Regions from separate parts of the Homo sapiens genome. Here region 2 is linked to region 1. The links are contacts of gene promoters, found by promoter capture Hi-C in human tissues and cell types (Jung and others, 2019). All regions are on one chromosome and are shown on one strand. The core of a region is centred on a gene start or on the middle of the fragment in contact, and the rest is flanking DNA. Distances in the headings are between cores, read along the strand shown. Region 1 holds the start of SCN4B (sodium voltage-gated channel beta subunit 4). Region 2 overlaps PHLDB1 (pleckstrin homology like domain family B member 1).

Region 1 (4,918 bases), core at 1,040-3,539:
TTGAGTTAAGTGGGAAGCAGCGTGGTGTGACAGAGCCCAAGAAACTTAGATTCTGTCCCACTTGGCCATCAATTGGCCATGAGCCCCTAGACAAGTCACCATCCCTCTCTGGACCATGACTTCCTCATCCCTAGGAGAGTTCTGTGCTCTGCTTCCCAGAGTTGCTGCCAACTCTGATGTTCCCAGGGAACACCTCCAGTTGGCTGTCCAGTCGTCTCTGTATCTCCCCCACTGGACTGAGAAGCAAGGATGTCATCTATGTCCCAAGCTCAGACCAATGCCCCTGTGAGGGCTCAGTCAGTATTACCTGGTCAAGGGCCAAAGGGACTTTGGTTGGAGTCCCTCTGCAGACCAGAGGGGCAGGGGACAGAGCAGATGAGGCCAGTCCTGGGGCCTGCAGGTCTCCCACCTACAAGTCACTCTGCTTTCTCCTGGGCTCCCAAAGGGTAGCTCAGAAATTCATCTAAACCTATATCAATAGGCCTTAGCCCCTACCTGGTCTATACAGCTGAACAGTCCTTGGAGAAGGTGGGGCTTCCACCTGGAGCAATGTACCAAGACTGTGCCTACAATCCCCCTTACACACGTGCACACACACACACACACACACACACACACATCATTTTCAGGGCCCTCTTGGTTGCCCACAGAGGCCTGGTTCTATGAGTATTCTAACAAACAAGGGACTGGCATCCCACCACCCAGGAAGGTAAGCCAGAGGTGTGAAGTGGGGTAGTTTAATGACTGGCTGAGTTTGAATTCCTCAGTGATCCTTTACCCCTGCCATTGCCACCATGGGGACCTGGGCTGATCTGAGATGGGATGAGGGGAAGTAGCATGGAATGGCGCTGTGCCCACCCTGTGAAAAGGAGCCTCAGGCGTCACTAAGGCCCACTTCATTAAGGTCACTGTGAAACCAGCATGACATCTGTGCCAAGGTACAGGAGAAAACAAGGGTGTCTTCCATCTAGCGGTACAGAGGTAAATAAACATCCCAAGTACAAGAAATACTCTCTCCCCTCTTCACCACCAGGCACCAACCTGCTAGATCTGCACACAGTTTACATTCGCAGAAACAGTAGCCACTTCCCTTATAGGGTTCTGTCTCCCTGTTTTCAGCAGAAATACCTACACCGTGTGTCTTACCCAATGCAGGGAGCTGCCAAAAGCCAAATCTGACCAATATAAACAGGAAGAGATGCCGTTGCCAGAGATGGAGTCGGCTTACATTAAAGTCTGGCTATGATTTATGAGGAGATTACATCCTGGATGAATAAATATCATTCCCTAATCTCTTGGAGTTTGACACTCAAAACTCTCATGTGCATATTAATAGATATTAATAATGCTTCTTCCTCCGTGTCCTCTGGACATGTCTTCTCTGTCTCCATATTCACTTCAAAAATGAAGAGCCAGGAGCAGGTCAAACAGGTCTTCCCTACGGAATCTCTTTGTAGGAAGAGAGACAAGGCCGTTCCTAAAGGGCCTTGAATGATCCCGCAAGCCCCTCCAGCCCCTTCCAGCTTTCAGGTGCTGCTGTAGGGAAGGCAGTGGCTCCTGAGGGAGGTACAGGGCAGAGGAGCAAAGCAGGAAAAGGGCCCAGGAAGAAGGGGACTCCCCCACCCCCAACTGGTGCATGCCTGGTGCCTGGGAAACAAGCAAACGGCTCTGGGCCGGGATGGAAACCACCATTCCAACAGTCACACGTGCAACCCACCTGGTATCCCCTGCACTCAAGGCACGGACCCCCCTCCTCCAGCATCCTGAACCTCTGAACTCTGGAGACCCGCGCTGCAGCCCCAAGATCCAGCTCCAAATACCTGGAGCCGAAGGTGCCAAGGACAGCAAAAAAACTAATCCTGAGACTGGCGGGCTGATGGGGTAGAGAGGGACGCACACGGTCCCCAGGGAGCACAGCCTATGAACCAGGCAGGAACCAGGCAGGAAGCCGGCGGCCACCATCCTCATTCCGTGCCGCACTCCAAAGCCCACCCCATCCAAGGCATCTTCCTTCTCGAGTGTCCCCTTCTTTGGGGGTGGGGGGAGGCAAGAGAAGAGACCAAGCTGGGGCTGCCTTACCCAAAAGCCCAGTGCCCAGCCATCTCGCCGGGGCTTTGCCTCCGTCCCCAGCCCCGGGCATAGTCCTGTTCTCTCCGGAGCGCGCGGGGGTCGCGGGGATGGGATACTGGGCACAGCCGCGCTCTCCGCCCGAGGTCGGCGTTCGGCCACAAAGCTACCCCGGAGCTCTGCGCCGCCGGTCGGGGCTCGGGAAAGTTAGCGGGCAGAGAGCGAGAGGAGGGGGAGGGAGGGAGCGGAGGGGGAGGCGCGCTCGCCCGCTGCTGGGAGCCGGCTGCTGGAGCAACGGCGGGAGGGAAGGAGTAGGAGGAGCCGGAGCAGGAGCGGGAGGAAGACGGAGCGAGCGCAGCGGCGAGCGAGGCTGCGCCTCTGCTCTGGAAGCGCTCCAGCCGCAGGAGGGGCGGTGGCCGCCGCGTAGGCCGGGGAGCCCCCGCCCGCTGCGCACCCTGCCTGCCGCACCCCGCCTCGCGGTCCCGGAGCCCCGGGACCACGCCGTGCCCCCAACTCCCTCTCCAGTGGGGCTGGGCTGCTGCGGCTGGCACTGCAGGGCCGGCCTGCAGCCACCCGCATCATCCCATGCGCTGAGCTGCCAATTAGGAGCATAGTTCGGGGGGAGTAGAGGTGGAGCTTTTCGGTTGCTGGAAGACTGTTTTGCTTTGCTTGGGGGAACACGGGAAGGTTAGCGGCTCCCTCTCCCAGGACCGCCAAGGGACCGCTTTAAAGTCCGCAGCGGACGCTGCCGCAACGGGTGGGCGTGTGCGGGCTTGCCCACTGCAGCTTGCGCCTCCTCGGTGGCGTGCGACATGGCGCGCGTGCAGCCTCGGGACCCGCTCCCGCCACCTTCTGCCCCATCGCTCAGCAACTCCGGCGGTTGTTTTAGGAAGCCCGGAACAGAGCTTTCCCATTGCAAACTGCCCCGGCCCTCCCTTCCCCCACCCCCACGCCACCCCGCCCCACATTTCTCCATGGACCCCTTGGAAATCACCACGCTCCAGGTTAGGGAGCAGGTTGGTCCGCGCCTGGTCTGTGTCCTGCGCCCCATTTCACCCTCCCGCTGCACCCCTGCTTCTCATTTTTCCTACCTAGGCCGTCCCCCTCAGATGCTGCCTTTTCGCCCTCCTCCAACTCTCCTGTTTTCTTCGGAACGGCAGACTCCCTCGGCCTCCCTTTTGGGGTAGGGGTGGAGGAGTCCAGGGTGACAACCAGGTCAGAGGGCTGAGGCGAGGCTGTGAACGAGTAAGCCTTTTCCCAGACAGGCCCAAGTGAAAGAGTTTCACCTGAGCGGTGCTACTTGGGCTGGTGGTTCTGTAAATGAGTCGATCTCCTCCTCAGCACCTTTCCAACCATCCAAGACCCTCCCTGCATCACAGGCCCTCTTTACTGTCTAGGACTGGTCCGGACTGGGAAGCCCGCTCCCACTTCATGGTCTGACTTCTGCTGCAGGCACACCAACGCACCGCCTTCTTAACGAGGGGTCTCTGGGTGGACTTCGGCGTGATCACGGACCCCTTGAGGTTGCAGGCAAAGTGCTGAATGTCTGTTTGCTTTTTCAGGAGAGAGGGTCGCTGCCTTCCCTATAGTGGCACAGAGGCTCTGGCAGCGCCACCATTTATGACTGTATGGCTTTGAGCAAGTTACATGGTCTTCTGGGGGAGCCTCTGCTCCTCACCTATAAAATGGTGAATGCAATGATATTTGCCTCCTAGGCTTATTAAGAGCGATGTTACCCCTGGACCTGGGCAACAGAAGCCTCAGCCCTGATTTCTGGTTTTAAAGGCCCTCATTCTGGCCCTCCTCTGGCCATGCCCCTCACTGGAGAATGAGTCCATGGGACCAAGGGGGCAGGGCAGGTGGGGGCATGCACCTCCTCCCCTTCTAGACTGTACTCCAGGTATCAGGAACTCTGGAATTCCCTATTCCCCAGATCTGTCCTTTCAAGGGCTGGCCATATCAGGTGTGCACTCAAGGGCTAGAGCAGTGGGCAAGGGACAGCTGTATGCAGGTGATGGGGAGTGCATGTAACTTGACACACACCCTAGGCATGCACAAGAGCCCCTCTCACTACAGGACCAGAGAAGAGTGTGTACCAGAGAATGGCCTGAAAATTTCATTTTGGACATGGTTTTCCAGGTTATCATGAAGGAAAAGTAATTAAAGGCAGAGGATAAAACATCAATCTTAACACTTTGTTATCCTGATTAATATTTAGACATATGTATAATTTCCATTTGTACCTTTGCTCCAGGACTTGCAACATCAAAAGTGGACCTAGCTGTAAAGAGGGAATGAGATATTATTGCATGTAAAAGTGCTCAGCAGACAGCTAGGCACAGGATAAACACTCAGTACATTTGAACTTAAAGAGGTCTGTGGGCCCTGAGGCTAAGCCTCCCCATCTGTCTCCAGGTCCGCAGGCTTACCCTGTCCTTCCCCAGGAGGTCCTTGCACTAGATCCGCAGGGCCAGGCATACAAACTGACCACTTTATTTTTACAGCAGGGGTCATGTTTCTCAGAACCCTAGACTGAGGTGAGAGAGGAGGTGAGCCAAAGGGAAGGAAAGTGACCCCTGCCCAGAGCAGGGGGAGGAGAGGGACAGAGCTGCAGGGATATCTTTAGATCCTGGTGACAGGAAAAGATGGCCAACGTCCTCAGTGTCCTCTCCCCACCTTCCCTGCTACCTCACTGCTACCTCACCAGTTCATAGAGTTTGAAGGGTCCATAGGAAACCCTCATGCCTTAGGGATGAAGAAAGAGGCTCAGAGAGGTAGAATGTGTAACCCGAGGTCAGCTACACAGTTACTGTTAAAGTCAGCGTTAGAACCTCCCCCATTACTTGATTTC
Region 2 (4,918 bases), core at 1,678-4,177, 470 kb after region 1:
CCGCCCACTTTTCTTCCTGCCCTCGATGCAGGATCCCAAGCCGGCTCCCTTTCTGCATCCTCCCGCCCCGCCCTCTCCATCCAGCTCTCCACTCGTCTCCTCCATCACTTCCTCTTCCCCTCCTCCTCTCCTTTGTCCCTCCCTCCCTGGCTCCCTTCCCCCGCCGCTGGTGGCCGGCCCGCCCCTCCCCGGGCATTGGCGGCTGCTCGCTGCCTCGCTGCTCGCTCCGAGCCTAGAGCCGGCAGCTCGGGAGGTCGGCCCGCCCCCTCAAAGGCTCCGGGCGGGCCCGGGACCTGGAGGGCCCGAGCTAGCGGGGGCGAGCGGTCCGGAGGTCCGGTTTCGGCGGTGAGTCCTCAGCCCCGGGCCAGCCACAGTCCCCAAGCAGCCAAGCTTGGAGAAGCTCAGACTGGGAGGGGCGTCTTGAGGAGGGTGGGCGGGAGGAGGTGCATGGGGTCCTCTGACCTTCTTTGGGAGCTTGAGGCTGAGAGACTCGATTGTGTGTGTTCCCTGAACATTTCTAAATGGGGATTCTGGGCTTGGGGGCACTTCTCAGCCGGTAGACCTTATCTTCTCCAGCGCTCCGGCAGTCCCCTCCTTAGGACCCACCTCCCTCAGATGGGGTTAAAGAGTCCTGGTTAGAATGAGGGGAGTCTACCTTATGGCCAAGGAGGGTCTCTGATAGGAAGGACCAAGGCCCTTCCTCCCATATTCCCTTCACTCGGTCTCCCTTTGGACAATCCATTCTATTTGTGTGACCAGGAGGGCAGTGACAGTAGCTCTGAGAGTGTGTGAGCATGTACGCCCATAAGTCTGTTGTGTTACTATGAGTGTGTATGAGTGTGAGCCTGTTTGTGTTGGTGTTTCTCCTCTGCATCTCTCACAGATAGGATTCACCCTCTCCTTCGCCCAGTTTTTCCCCTCCAGATGTGCAGCTCCTCCACCCACCTGCACACAGCTGGACCCTGATCCCCCCTGGGCATGGGGGACACTGATCATGACTTTGGCAGGATGGGCAGGGATTCCTGGGCTCCCTGAAAGGGCTGGCCTTTGCGGGTTGGGGTGGGAGTGGGCAGAGAGGAGGCTTCTTCCCAGAAACAGGCTGGCCAGACCCCTGGGGGCTGTAGGGGCCAGCATCAGGGCAATGCCTGAAGCTTCTGCATGCAAATAGAAAGTTAATTTGGGCAGGAGCTGGGCTGCTCTCAGTCCTGCTGCCCTCCTGCCCGCTCTATTAATACGGATCCAGCTCTGCTGCCTGGCATCACTATTTATAGCCCAGAGGCAGCATGGCCACACCCCCTTATGCCGGGGAGGGTGAAGGGCTGAGGAGGGGGCAGAAAACACACAGCTATAGGGGCCCAGGCAGAGGATCCCTAGATGCCTACATCCTACTTGGGTGGGCCTGGGACTGCTGGGCTGGAATCCACTCAGACTCCCTGCCTCCTTCCCAGCCTGGACTGTGTGGTCAGGCTCCTGATCCCTACCACCCACGACCCTGGGTTGAGTGGCTCTGTCTAGACCCTGTGAACTCATCACCAGTAGGCTTGTTAAATGGCTAAATGGAGGGGGAGGGGCTTGACAGGGCTCTTTCTGAAACAGCTGTGGTTGTAATTAGGTGGACAGTGTGGTTGGCTATTATTTATTCCAGTTTTGAATACTCTGGGATCCTCTTCTCTGATTGGTGACTTGGCAGGGAAGGCTCCCTCTCTCTCCTTTAGAATTGTTGGTGTCTGGCTGCCTGGGAGGGCCTTTGTGTATGCCAGGATAGTGAGTGGCTTTATCCACTATGGTTATCTGCCATGGGCTTCTCAGCCTACTAAACCCCCAACCCAAGCAATGCCCAGGATCCCAGGAACAGGCTCCTGAGCTTCTCAGTAAGGGACCTGCCAAGGTACTCACGTGGCCTGGGATGCCTCTTGCCCTTGCGGCCTGCCTGAGCTGAACTGTCTCAGCGTCCAGGAATGTAGACTTCTCTGCCAGTCTTAGCTCAGACTGGCGTGAAGCTTGGGGTGCCAAGTGGCACCAGATTGGGTAGACAGGAGGCTGAGGCCGGGGGCCAGGGGTGTGGACAAATTGGAAGGATTGGTGGTAGAGAGCAACAGGGCTCTGGCTTCTCCCAACATAGTATCTTCTGCAGTAGCCCTCCAGCACCTGGTGTGGCTGGGAGGTGGAGTTCTGCTAGCTACAGTTAGGCGCCTGTGGGCACATCTGCCACTGTGCACACTCCAGGTGCCCCTGGCTACATTTTCCAGCTCCCACATGCCCTCCCCCTCCAGGTACTCACACTTCCCGGGCAGGACTGGGCTTGTGTCTACTGCCTGGGAATGTGCTTGGCTGAGGCCGGGCCTGGTGGCCTAGTCTTGGCCTGATGCCAGGGGAGACCAGGGAGCATGCAGAGGGTGCTTAGTCAGAAAGAAAGGTGGTGGTCGCTCCCTAGACTTGCAGTGCACAGCTCTCCTAAGGTCACAAAACAAGAAAGAGTGGGAGCAAATTCAGGACCCCCCCGGTTCATCTGACTGATCCATGGTTTTTCCCCTTGTTCCCTATCTCAGTTTTTTTTTGTGACCCTGGAAGTTGCTGCCTCTCAGACTGACTCTTCTACCCTTCTACCCAAGGGGCAGATAGATGGATCATGGATACAGGCTGGGGTTGGGGGACAGGTGTGTCTGTGTTCTCTGAACATTTGTGTGTGTGTGTGTGTGTGTGTGTGTGTGTGTGTGTGTGTGTGAGACGGAGTTTCGCTCTGTTGCCCAGGCTGGAGTGCAGTGGTGTGATCTCGGCTCACTGCAGCCTCTGCCTCCTGGATTCAAGCAATTCTCTTGCCTCAGCCTCCCAAGTAGCTAGGACTACAGGCGCACGCCACCACCCCCAGCTAAGTTTTGTATTTTGAGTAGAGACGGAGTTTCACCATGTTGGCCAGGCTGGTCTCGAACTGCTGACCTCAGGTGATCCGCCCGCCTTGGCCTCCCAAAATGCTGGAATTACAGGTGTGAGCCACCATGCCTGGCCTCTCTGAATATATTTTTACAGAGTACTTTCACATACACTGTCTTATTAACCCTACAAGATCAGTGGTATTGTCCCCATTTTTCTGATTAAGAGAACTAGATTCAGAGGTGAAGTTACTTCACCCAGAGATCTCACAGCTAGTAAGAAGAGGAATTAGGACGAGGACTCAGATCTTGGGACTCACTCACCAGTGCTTTTTCTACTCTGTCTTGTGCTGCGGAGCCCTGGAGGTGCCCATCTCAAGCACAGGCAAGGTCAGGTGTGGACTGTGTGGACTCTGAGAGCAGATGAGGATGGGTCTTTAGAGCTGAGGTGAGCCTGCTAGTGCTGTGAGGTGGGGTAACTTCAGTCCTGCCTGCCCTTCCAAGTGTTTTCTCTCTTTCTTCCTTTCTTTTTTTTTTTTTTTTTTTTTTTTTTTTGAGACAGAGTTTAGCTCTTGTCATGTAGGCTGGAGTGCAGTGGCATGATCTCAGCTCACTGCAACCTCCGCTTCCTGGGTTCAAGCTATTCTCTGATCTCAGTCTCCTGAGTAGCTGGGATTATGGGATTACAGGCGTCCACCACCACACCCGGCTAATTTTTGTATTTTTAGTAGAGACGGGACTTCACCACATTGGCCAGGCTGGTCTCCAACTCCCGACCTCAGGTGATCCACCCTCCTCCGCCTCCAAAAGTGTTGGGATTACAGGTGTGAGCCACCACACCTGGTCTTCAAGTGTTTGCTTTCTCTGCAGGCTGCATGTTGTGCCTGGGTCAGTCCACCTTCCTTCGCTTTAACCACCCGGCTGAAGCCAAGTGGATGAAAAGCATGATTCCAGCAGGGGGCCGAGCCCCTGGGCCCCCCTACAGCCCTGTTCCTGGTAGGTACCGACGGGGGCAGGGTGCTGGGTTGATGGTGTTCCTGCAGCAGTCCTCCTCCTTGCTCACTTCAGCCACACTTGGAGTGTTAGGGCAAGACAATACCTAAGGTCTGGGCTCACTGCCACCTGCCATGGGCGGGTGGAGAATGCCAGGCAGTGGGGCCACTGAGAGCTAACCAAGGCAGTGCTGCTTAGCTAAAATTGGGAAATTATGTGCCTCGAGGGATGGCAAGCTCTGCCAGCTTGTACCCCACTGCCCTGGAGGATGCCACTCAGTGTCTGGAACTCTGGCCCACTTGTGTCACCACAGGGAGCCTCACCCTCTAGGGTACCCTGAGGGGCAGAAGGAAGCATTAGGTTGAACTCCCTGTAAGCTGTGGTGGGGATCATGTCCTTGGGCCTCGCCCAACCCTCACTCCATGCCCTGCCCGCTGATGACTCAGTGGAGCAGCTGTATTTTGTGTGTGAATTATTGATCCCCAGAAGAGAATTGGTGATTGTTCTGGGGAACCAACACAGGCCCCCTCAGCCCAGCTGCACAGGGGGGCAGGAGGGGTGCAGACCAGGAGGCTATTATGGGTTTACCATCTCAGACTTTGCACTGGCATTTAGATGGCTATGGGGTGACAGGTGCTGGGACAGATGGACATGGATGTCAGGTACACCTAGTGGGGTGGTATCAGCAGCCTAAGTGGATAGCCTGGGGACCTGAAGAAAGGTGAGTGATCACTGGGATTATCAGTATCCATGGCATCCCCTCTGACTATATCCCACACAGTCTCCATAATTTTGGACCCAAACTCAGTCTTGCAAAGGCTTTCCCTTCTCTTTTCCCTACCCTCGATCTTTTCCAGTCCTCTGGGGGCTCAGAAGCCTGGGTTCCCAGTCTACTCCCTAGTTAATTTTACCCTGCCCCCACCCCAGCCTTGTCATGTCACTCCCTTAGCTGTTTGGGGCAGTGGTTCCAGGGACTCCTATATGGTTGACTAGTGCTGGGGCATGGCAAAAGCAGGCTCTTGCTGGCATGGCTTAATGGGATAATTGGAGGCACT

The links. The method cuts DNA at HindIII sites, captures the fragments that hold promoters and counts their contacts. A contact is called where the count stands out against the background at its distance.
Region 2: a contact is called between a fragment that was not itself captured here and the fragment with the promoter of SCN4B in region 1, in 1 of the 25 tissues and cell types used here (spleen).

The regions. Positions count from the first base shown.
Region 1 is chr11:118,150,534-118,155,451 of GRCh38, forward strand. It overlaps SCN4B (sodium voltage-gated channel beta subunit 4), which reads right to left and starts at 2,290. Exons shown (of 5, transcript NM_174934.4): 1 at 2,080-2,290. The coding sequence starts at 2,140. RefSeq lists an enhancer at 2,908-3,408. The HindIII fragment of the contact is 20,039 bases long and covers 1-4,918 here.
Region 2 is chr11:118,621,194-118,626,111 of GRCh38, forward strand. PHLDB1 (pleckstrin homology like domain family B member 1) reads left to right here. Exons shown (of 23, transcript NM_001144758.3): 5 at 3,741-3,866. Among named protein-coding and RNA genes, the nearest start is that of PHLDB1, 16 kb to the left of the region's middle. RefSeq lists a silencer at 154-243. The HindIII fragment of the contact is 8,405 bases long and covers 1-4,918 here.